Regions from separate parts of the Homo sapiens genome. Here regions 1, 3 and 4 are each linked to region 2. Evidence: promoter capture Hi-C in human tissues and cell types (Jung and others, 2019). All regions are on one chromosome and are shown on one strand. The core of a region is centred on a gene start or on the middle of the fragment in contact, and the rest is flanking DNA. Distances in the headings are between cores, read along the strand shown.

Evidence for each region. Contacts are between HindIII fragments. The study calls those that stand out against the background at their distance.
Region 1: a fragment that was not itself captured here is called in contact with the fragment with the promoter of SMAD9 in region 2 in 2 of the 25 tissues and cell types used here (bladder and thymus).
Region 3: a fragment that was not itself captured here is called in contact with the fragment with the promoter of SMAD9 in region 2 in 2 of the 25 tissues and cell types used here (adrenal gland and spleen).
Region 4: a contact is called between a fragment that was not itself captured here and the fragment with the promoter of SMAD9 in region 2, in 2 of the 25 tissues and cell types used here (H1 embryonic stem cells and liver).

The regions. Positions count from the first base shown.
Region 1 is chr13:36,826,615-36,829,314 of GRCh38, reverse strand. RFXAP (regulatory factor X associated protein) reads right to left here. Exons shown (of 3, transcript NM_000538.4): 3 at 211-1,672. The coding sequence ends at 1,562. Among named protein-coding and RNA genes, the nearest start is that of RFXAP, 8.7 kb to the right of the region's middle. The HindIII fragment of the contact is 6,804 bases long and covers 1-2,700 here.
Region 2 is chr13:36,918,941-36,921,640 of GRCh38, reverse strand. SMAD9 (SMAD family member 9) reads left to right here and starts at 1,403. Exons shown (of 7, transcript NM_001127217.3): 1 at 1,403-1,525. RefSeq lists silencers at 1,263-1,312, 1,423-1,492. The HindIII fragment of the contact is 20,741 bases long and covers 1-2,700 here.
Region 3 is chr13:37,039,665-37,042,364 of GRCh38, reverse strand. SUPT20H (SPT20 homolog, SAGA complex component) reads left to right here. Exons shown (of 26, transcript NM_001014286.3): 8 at 1,673-1,789; 9 at 1,907-1,960. Among named protein-coding and RNA genes, the nearest start is that of SUPT20H, 19 kb to the left of the region's middle. The HindIII fragment of the contact is 4,386 bases long and covers 1-2,700 here.
Region 4 is chr13:36,810,635-36,813,334 of GRCh38, reverse strand. No RefSeq gene overlaps it. Among named protein-coding and RNA genes, the nearest start is that of RFXAP, 7.2 kb to the left of the region's middle. The HindIII fragment of the contact is 5,306 bases long and covers 1-2,700 here.

The sequences.
Region 1 (2,700 bases), core at 168-2,667, 92 kb after region 2:
TCCATCCATTTCCCATTTCCCTCCTTTCCCATTATTCCATCTAAAGAAGCATAAGCTAATGTTTTCCACCATAAAGGGTAACTTAAGCTTCAAAAAAACTCTCAACATCGTAAGTATGAGAATAAACTAACAGTTAATAACAGACAGTAGATGAATTCCTCTGCATCTAGTAAGAATAAACTAAAGAACAGAATAAAGAAATCAGCTAACTCAAAGGTCAACAACTGGACTTTAATGAATTAATTTTGTTAAAAGTGTTTTGAACAGATATGCAAGTAAAAACACACACATTAAGAAATGAACAAAAACGTTCTTGCTCTCCATAAGTACTTCTTAGAACAGCCATGATTAAGTCGAACTTTATATATAGAGTTTAAAAAACAAGTAACAAATTTTTGTAGAGTTAAACTTGAGACACATACATTTATATCCTAATATTGGATATACTCTCTTGACATTTAATTTGTTATTCCTATTGGTAGGTTTGCCTTTTTAAAGTTTTAAAGTTTTCCTAGGAGAAAGTATAAGAAAAAGGTATCCAGATTACTTATCATTTTTGAACATTACTTAGGAATAACAGTTTTCAGATAGCTCAATTGCGAAAAACAATGACAAAATACTGGAGTGTTAGTTTTATTTTCAGGATCACCTTTTTGAAAAGGATCTTTTTCATTTTGTTTAATAAAAAATAAGTATAAGAAAAATAATTTTGTCTTGGCATTGGTGGGCTGAGATCTATACTGTTCACAAATTCAACAAACAAGAAATGTCTGCTTTAAGAGATCAGCACTAACAGGTAACATCAAAGAGAGAAGCCAACTGTAGGAGACACATCCCAGTGTGCTTAGTTAATCCGTCAGGTTTTACTAACACACCTCTGAAAAGAGATGCACATCCTAAATTCACAGATATTAAACAATAATCACTTTCCTTACGTCTATATAAAATGTGCTTACCTCTTTGACAGCTTCAGTCTTAACTGCAAAGAAAGGTTATTAAGAGAACCCAATTATAGGTGCCCCAACTACATGTTAGCACCACAAAATAGCCATCAACATTTCTTAGGAGTGTTATTGGCACTGCGGGTGAGACAATCTTTAGTATGTGGGACTACCCCTGACACTGCAGAACATTTAGCATTCCTGGCCACTCACTAAAAGCCAGTGGTTTTCAAGGTCACTATGACAATCAAATTGACCCTTGATGAGAACCACTGAGCTAGATGAGTCAAGATTAATATCTATTAACTTTATGACTTCCACAGAAAGTAACTGCTTCATTACCTTCAGTAACAATGACTGAAGAGGAATATATTTTTTAAAAAACATTATAATTAAATGTTATTTGGAAAGATAAGCTGACTTCTTCAAACTCACAGTAATCTGAAAGATTAGATGCACAAAGTGCAATACTTACTTATCCCCAAATGCACACATACATTTACAGGAAAATGTTTATGTTCTACAGGCATAGATTATTACCCCATTTATGTCTGGTAAAAAAATATGCTCATCTATTACAATAAGATAAAAAACCATGTAGATGTTCTTGGTAAGTTCCCTCACATTGATGTTCCTGGAAACTGCTGTTGTCTTTGCTCCAAAACTTGCTGATTTAATAGCTGTTGCTGTTTCTGTAAAAATTGCACTACTTCTGGACTTCTTAGTAACGACTTAGAAAGAAAAGAAAAAAATTATTAATAGCATTAATCTATGTCATTAGACTGTTTTCATGCTAATTACTCTGATGTGTCCCTACATATGATACAATATGTTCACAAGAATATGCCTGAATCAAAAGCACTTTTACATCGGATGCACTGCAACTAAGCTGCAAACTAAAAATAATGTGATGTCACACATCAAAATACTAAAACCTAAAAATAACGGGTGAAGTCTGTTATTGGTGACTTTGTGTAAAAAGGAAACACCTTCTCTAATATGCCAGCAAATATACTCTCTTGAAATATGTAAGAACAAAGAGCTAAAAGTAGCACTGACCCAGGATTATAGCAAGAAAAAAAATGGAGATGAAAGGGGGCCACATGTGAAAATAGCAGCTAAATGCCAGTTTGTACATACATACAAACTAGTGCTAGAAGTCAAGTTTCTCATTAGGCAACTAAGTCTTCATAAAGAAATTAAAAATTGTGTGTATAGGTGTGTATATATATATATGTACATATATATCGGTATATACCAAAATTTCAGGAAAAAATATAACTGCTCTAAAACATCCAATACCTTTTTGTACACTCATCACTTTAAAATATAGTTGTAATAATATAACAAATATAACAGACTATGATTAACATATTATTATTAGAGACAGGGTCTCACTCTGTTCCCCACGCTGGAGTGCAGTGGCGTGAGCATAGCTCACTGCAGTCTTGAACTCCTCGGCTCAAGCAATCATCCTGCCACAGTCTCCTGTAATAGGTTTTTATAATAAAATACTTACATAAATTTATAGAGAAAAAAATCTTTGGCCCCAATAAGCTGCAAAAAGATAAACTGAATAAAGTGAACATACTATCATTAAATACTGACTTTCAGATTATATGTATTATATCTTAGTACATTTTCTATTTATTAAACAGTTTTATTTAAAAATCATCTTAGCTGTTATGACACTGTTGGACATTTAGGCTGTTTCAACTACCTTTTTTACTATTTATGAGAAATATATTCCTGGCAATAC
Region 2 (2,700 bases), core at 154-2,653:
GGTATCAATTCTGAGGACCTAATTAGTTTACTGGCAATAAAGTCCACATCCAGCCTAATCCTTAATATATAATCTGTAGCCCTTACCGGTCCCGCTGTTTCCTGGTGTTTCTCACCCAGGACAATCTCAAACCCAACACATAGCCGGGTGCAGAGGTATCTGGGCCAGTGTAGAAAGAAGACTTTGAGGTTAAGGCATGGTATTTAAGGTTCTGCTGCAAATGTTGTTTTAAACAAATCACCGTTCAACTACAACGGTATAATAATGCAAAAATAGCATCTGCCATGAAGAAAGTGCAGTGCTTTGAGAACTAGAAAAAGCAGTTAAATTTAAGGCCTTGCTTTACATTTCGGAGCCGCCATCGGGGCCAACTGGAGGTATGACTTTCCTGCACACAGGAGCAAGCTGAAAACTGCCCTGTGGCTTTATTCCACGTTCACCCCTGCAGCAAATGCCTTTTCTGTGAGGAACTACGGGCTGATGGGGAATCAGAGGTGGTTCTTCCTAAGTGGCGTTTCTGAGTGGGTTCCAGGAGTCCACAGTGACTTTAAGAGGCAGGCTACCTGGGGGACAGCCAGGCCGTGAGACGAGAAAGTTGTACAGTAACATTGCTGTGTGCCCATAAGTTTGTATCTTTTATTAGATTAGATAATATATCTCACATGCTGGGTTGTTAAGCAAATAAATATGTGTAAGGAAATTACAATCCACATAATTACATGAGTCGTTTTAACCACCACTCACCCCCAGAGTGATTAGATTTTCTTCTGCCTATGCCATTGCGGCCCAGTTGCTCTGTCACTGTCCATGGGGACAGGATCCCCTTACTCCGAAAAGCAAATCAGGAACAAACAGGGCAAGTGAGAGTCACTATCAGGGCCCAGAAACATGTGAGGAACAGCAGCTCAGAAGGGTCTCCAGACTGATGGGCCGGTGATCCTATATTCTTGTTGGGCTGACAACTCTTCTGGTTTCGGGCTCCAGGTGCTGGCAAGAAATCTCAGAGGTGGGGTGGGAGAGAGAGACGCGAGGCGACCCACGCAGACAAAGGGCTCCCACCCCACCCCCGGGCCACCCCGGCAGGCCGGGCAGGGGCCGAGCCTGGGGTCGCGCAGGGGGACCGAGAGGGCAGCGCGGGGCTGGGGGTGGGGAAGAGGCGGGAACCGAGCCGCAGGCCGCTGCGAGGAGTACTACCCCGCCACCCCCGCGCCGCGAGTTTCCGCGCACGTGGCCGTGGGGCCGGTCTCGCTCCCGCCCCCCGCCGGGCCCGCGCAGCCCCCTCCTCTGCGGCTCCCGGAGCGGCCAGAGCGCGCGGCGGCGGGCGGGGGCGGGCCGCAAGCAGGGCTCCCTGGCCGCTTTCCAGGTCGGCGCACTAATACGGGCGATGAGGCTTCGCGGCTCCAGTCTGACTGACGCCGGCTGGGGCCGCCGCCGCCGCCGCCGCCGCCGCCGCTGCTGCAGCCGCTGTCTCGGTCCCCGCCGCCGCCGCCGGGCCCTGCAGGCGCTGGGCGCGCGCAGCCAGGCAGTGAGTGCGCGGCGCTCGGAGCGGGCGGCCGGGGGACCACGGCGGGGGCGGGGTTGGGGGCGCCGGACCTGGGTGGGGGAGGGATGAGTGGCACGGCGGGGACAGGTAAGACGTGCCCTCCTCGGCCGCGCGCTGCTTGTGTGCGTGCGTGTGAGCGCATTGAGTGGAGGGCGAAGTTGTTCGTCCTCGGGGCAGCCTGGGAGGCTCCTCGGCGTGAGGCTTGGCTTTTGGCGGTCGTTGTTCCCGGGTTTTTTGGTGGAGCCTGTCTGGGGTGGAGTGGGGTGGGGTGGGGTGGGCGCGGGGCCGGAGGGGACTGCTCTGGGGAGTTGGCCGCGGCGCAGCTCGCCTTCCTCGCGCCTGCATCCGCCCGCGCCGCGGGCCCCGGGACCTGTCAGGGGATGTTCGACCCGCGGCGGGGGCGGCGGTCGGGTCGGGGCTGGGGCCCGGGGCGTGGGCAGGGACCAGGATAGGCGCCTGAGGGGTCGCTTGCTGTAGCTGGAGATAGGGGACAGCGGACAGAGGGGGCGGCGGGGGTCGTCATTGTGACTCTTTGGGGGCCACTTTTAAACTCGCCAGCGCCGAATTGGCCTCACTTGCCTTCTGTTTCGTAGGCTTTTTGCTTTGTTTACCTTTGAGGCATGCGAACTGAGAAAAAAAGTTAGGAATGTTGTTGAAGTGTCTCCGGGCTCGCGCTTGGACTGTGTCGGAGCCGGGGTGTTTGTCTTTTCCTTGGCCCGCCCCTCGGTGCCAGCTCTCCGCAGAGGGGAGGGGGCGAGGTGGGAAGCAGATACAGGAGACTGCCTGACGCCAGCTTTGTGATCGGAAGGAGGAGCGCTGGGAGAACATTTTTATGGATGGCTAATCGCTGACAAGTTTTCCCGTTACTATTCCTTCCTCCTCCTGCCCTTGACCGTGGACATTTGAAGTGATAGTTTGGAAATACTACGTTGACTTATTTCTGGGCTGGAGTGGGTACTCCTGAGAACTAACCTACAAAGGATACAAATCGAGTTTGGAGATAAAATTGTATGTAAATTCTTTACCCAGTAGTTTACAGTGAGAAACACACCCACAGGGCACTGTGGAGTGCTTTGGATGGATCCAGTTTACTAGTACCATTTCGGTGGCTTGCCAGATTTCTCGGATGATCTTTTGGAAATGTAGGTTAGCAAGAA
Region 3 (2,700 bases), core at 181-2,680, 120 kb before region 2:
CTTATATGCCTCACCATGGCCATTCCACCAAGCTCCTAACTTACATATTTTCTTGGATATATAATAGGTTCCTCAAATTTAACATGACAAAAACAGAGCTTTATTTTACCTCCCAAACCAGTTTTATCACCAGTCTCTTCAGTCTAACAGATGACTCTGTCCTTACCTTCCACATTCAGTCCATCAGCAAATGCCAGTCTCTCTTTAAGATACATGATCGTGCCCAGTGCTCTGAACAAAACCTTTGCTTTCCTGTTTGTCTTCATCTTCTAGATCTCATCCTCACTCGCTGCATTCCATCCATCCTTGTCTCATTTCCACAATAAAACACTCCAAGCTTGTTCCTACAGTAAGAACTTCTCATATGTTATTCCCTCTGTCTGGAATGATCTGTCCCTGAAGTGTCTGGCCGTTTCTTGTGATTCAGATCTTAGGTAAAACCTAAGGTTTCTATCTGCACATACAATCCAGATTAGCCCTTCCCTATTTGATTTCCTTTATAGAATTCATCACTATCTAAAATTACTTTGTTCTGTTTACATGTTTATTGCCTGTCTTCCCACAACTGAGAGCAAATGTTGTCTGACTACTGTATCTGTGAAGCTGTACCTGGATAGTGCCTAGCACATAGTAGGCATTGTAGTTGCTCAGTAAATATTTATTTAAAAGAATGACAATAAGAATGACAAAACATGGAGACCACAGTACCCACTAAAAGTTCTGAATGGGTGAAAAACATACTATGAGTGACCATGGCAAGTCATAACTAGCAAGACTTCGATGATAATAGTTCTTACATTTGAGCATAGAAAGGACTGAAAAACTATTTTTCTTTTTTTTTTTTTTTGAGGTGGAGTCTCGTTCTGTCACCCAGGCTGGAATGCAGTGGCCCAATCTCGGCTCACTGCAAGCCCCACCGCCTGGGTTCATGCCATTCTCCTGCCTCAGCCTCCTGAGTAGCTGGGACTACAGGCGCTCGCCACCACACCCAGCTAATTTTTTTGTATTTTTAGTAGAGACGCAGTTTCACCATGTTAGCCAGGATGGTCTCGATCTCCTGACCTTGTGATCCACCCGCCTCGGCCTCCCAAAGCTGGGATTACAGGCATGAGCTACTGCACCCAGCCTGAAAAACTATTTTTCATTTGAATTTTATATTTAGCTTCCCTCTTATTAATAAAGGCTAAGGGCAAAATTATATTTCTGAAAATTTTAGCAGAGCAAATATAGAAGTTATATCTAGAAGCTAAAACACTGGCAAGGTTGGTTGGCAATTTATAACAATGATAAACTTTATAGTAATGACAAAGTTAGTGAAATGTAACAGTAAGCCTGTGAGCTGCAGAAGAACAGCAGTTCCAAGGATCTGTAACATAATAGTATGTAAATGCCAAAAGTCAAACTGTTGACTTGGTAGATGCCAAAGTCAATCTATAATTAGAAACTATTAAATAGTTTTAAATTGCTTCTTGTGTCATAGTGATGAACATGAAATACTTCCTCTGAAAAGGTTTACATAGTGTTAAATCTACCAAGGAAATCTACTGAAGAGTACATACATGAGTGGCCAGAAATGTTGCATGAATGTAAAGAATGCGAAATGTTTGATATAAACCCACTTATTTAGGCTTTTGGAAAAAAAAATGACGTTTACGTATTTTTGCCCAAACAGGTTAATATTTTTCATTGCGGATGTGTCATAGCAGAAATACGTGACTACAGGCAGTCCAGTAACATGAAATCTCCTGGTTACCAAAGTCGGCACATTCTCTTACGTCCAACAATGCAGGTAAGGATGTTTAATTAAGAAATACTATTTTAGATTTTAGTTGGGAGTTTTATTTATCGAATTCTTCATATGTTTGTGCATAGATTAATAAGTTTTTTAAATTTTTATTTCTTCTAGACTTTAATTTGTGATGTACATTCAATAACAAGTGATAACCACAAATGGACCCAGGTTAGTTGTTTTGTTTTTTAATCTCAAACAGGCAAAATATAGGATGAAAAAAAATTATCATTAAGCAAAAGTGATTTTCTGCTTATTTTTATTCAATAATTAAGTTTGATGCTTTATGTGAAAAGCTGGTATTCCTTTATAAGATCTAGAAGTTAAGGGTCTCTTTATATGTGTAGTAATCCCTCAAGTTGCCTAAGATCATTTTAAGGTCAAGCTGGCCTAATATATTCAATGAGATAAAACTTAGTTCTTTATCTCCTCTCAAACAGAAGAAAAATGTTTTGTTTTTACCATGGTTACAAATAGATACTGGTTTTTTTTTTCAAATAATTCAAGTTTCTAAACCCTAGCCTAGCCTATCTTTCTTTGCCATTTATACTGGTTGCCTTGAAATGAGGGGAACTCTCTTACCCCTGAGAATAACCAGTTAACCCCTCCAGTTCTGGCTCAGTGTTATATGAGGGGACTTCAGAAAGTTTGTGGAAAACTGGAATTAAAAGATAATAATAAAAAATATAAACTTTTCTTCTCAATATAAGCTCCATCAAGTTCAAGATGCTTGTAAATGATATCAACCATTTATTTAGTCCACCCCTGAAGAACTGAGGGTCCTGGGAACTGAACCATATCAATGCAATCTTTTCTACATTATTAACTGAAGAAAAATGGGTACTTTTTAAACTTTTTTTTTTTAAGATTAGGAAACAAAAAGAAGTCAGAAGGAGCCAAATCTGGACTGT
Region 4 (2,700 bases), core at 190-2,689, 110 kb after region 2:
TGCCTCCCAAGTGCTCTCACTTCAAAGTAGTCAGTATAACAAGGTAACTTGGGGTGGCCTTTCCTGAACCTCCTTAATGATGAAGTTGGTCTAAATGATCTGTAAGCTCTTTCCTAAGTTTAGAATGTAATATACTGTAATGACCTTTTATGCGCCTGTCACTTGGGATTTTGATTCAATTGGTCTGGCGAGGGGCCAAGGCATCCATATTATTAAAAAGCTCTCCAGGTAATTCTAATATGCAATCAGGGTTGAGAATCACTGAATTATCTATAACATACTAAGAAGTAATCTAGTATACTTAGATGTACAAACAGATATCCTAGCTCAGGAATTCGTAAACATAGTGTATTTGTCATCAACCAGTAAGATTTTGCACATATGGTATTTTTTAAGTGGTAGGAACTCAGATTATTGTCAAAGCAAAATTTTAGCATTATTACTATTGCCATTATTTCATTTAGATTCCATCCGTTTACTCTTTAAAGACTTACTGGAAAGACAAGGCATTGTGTAAATTCTGCATGGGCTTCCTCATCTCCTCTATTTATTTCCTTACTAATCCTCCTATTTCCCTATAGCCATGCACATTCCTTCTTTTGTGTTTTTGAAAATGGTGCTTATCAATTACCAAAGGAGTAGTCTTTCTCTCTCTCTCTCTTTTTTTTTGAGACGGAATATCACTCTCTCACCAGGCTGGAGTGCAGTGGCGCGATCTCGGCTCACTGCAACCTCTGCCTCCTGGGTTCAAGCGATTCTCCTGCTTCAGCCTCCTGAGTAGCTGGTGCACGCCACCATGCCCAACTAATCTTTGTATTTTTAGTAGACACGGAGTTTCACTGTGTTGGCCAGGATGGGCTCGATCTCTTGACCTCATGATCCACTCACCTCAGCCTCCCAAAGTCCTGGAGTGATTACAGGCGTGAGCCACAGCGCCCTGCCAGGAGTAGTCTCTTTAAGTGGGAAACAGTGAGATGAAAAAGTGCTTATTCTTTTTTGATAATCTGGCTTATTTTTCATGACAAGGAAGCAAGGCCTATTAAAGGGGCCTCAAGCTCTGGGGGTCAGGGTGGGGCATTGCAGTGAGTGGACAGAACTAGAACAGAATGGCATCAGAATTGAGGCAGGTCTAGGGACCAGCTGCTCTCCCCAGCTCTCTTTCTCTCAGGTCACCTACTTTTTTCTGGACAGTTTTCCTTTGTCTACCAGCTTTCTTCAGATCCTTCATAACTTGGGCTTGCACATGGCTTTCTGGTTGGTCTCTGTTTGACCTGTAGATGTACTTTGCTTGCTGTCCCCTGTTCTTTTCTGTGCTAGGGGTGGAGGCAGGCTGGACTGAACCATACCAGAATTCCCATGGTCTCTGGATTCCGACTGGGTTTGACTAACTCATTAAGTGGGCCACCAGAGCAAGGGGAAAGTGAGAGATGAGGATACTGCCTGCACTCTGCTTCTCTCCTCCACTTTGCCTCTCTGGCAGTCTCTATATCCCTCTGAGGCTACAGCTCCTGCTGAGGGGCACTCTTCCACATTACTAGGTCTTGCTGAGCACCAGTAACCCTATTTCTGCCCCCTGCTCCTTCATACCCGGGTAGTAATGGCTTCCTGCTGCTGCTACGTTCTGGATGGCTTTACCGTCCTTTGTGTGTTCTCTTAACCCTGCTTACATTTCTGCAAACAGTCTTGGTTAAAGTCTCTTTCTTTGAACCATCTATATCTTCTGTTTCTTGCTGGGACTTTAAGATATAGTGGCCATGAATGGGATTCATGTCCTTCAGTTCCTTAGGACCTTTCCATCTTAATTCTCACTGCTCACTGGTGCCATTTCTCCAGGGTTTCCATTTCAGACTCCAGATGGTAAGACTTTGTTTTGCCTAATTTGTCTTCCTATTGCTGGGTTGGTTGGAGCTCATGGAAAAGCCATGGATGGTCTACACCTGGGTAAGGTGCCCATTCTTGATCCAGTCAGTCATTGATTGGAGGAGGAATCCTTTCACATAGAACAGGGGCTGTGGCACTGCAGTTTCCCTTAAAGGGGGATGCAGGCTGGTAGGGACCAATCAATTTCAATCTACTGCTTTAATTCCACTTTCTCAACATTCGAGTAATTTAACCCTGACTTGGCCTTCTGCCTTTAGTAAAGAAAATGATATATGGTTAATTTTTATTTAACTTTAATGAAAGTTAAGAATTATTTTCTAGAACCAAAGGGCTATGCCTTTTCTCCTCTATTTCCAACTCTATACTCCATTTCCCCTTTTCTAGCTTATTTTTCTTTTTTTCTTATTTCCATAAAACAGCGTCATGTTTTCCTGAGAAGTAATTTATGCTGTGAGTTGGGGGCTGAGGAAAAGAACCATTCTAATTTTCTTTTGCCAATCACCTTTTCTTCAATCCTTTTCCAATCACCTATGAAGCTTGGTGTCCACAGAGTACCAATTCTCACCAAAACAGAACTTTACCATTGTTATTATAGCATAGGAATCACATTGAAGAATTCTGATATGAGAAATTTGTTTATGACAATCTGTATTACACATTATATCATGTATCACTATTTTATTTAATTAAAATTTATTTTAAAAAAACTCATCTTTTGCTTCCAGGAAAGTGGGAAGAATATTAGGAAAATAAAAATGAACATAGAGTTCATTTTTAAGCCTCTATTTATGTTTCTTGCATTCCTCAGTTTGTAGATAA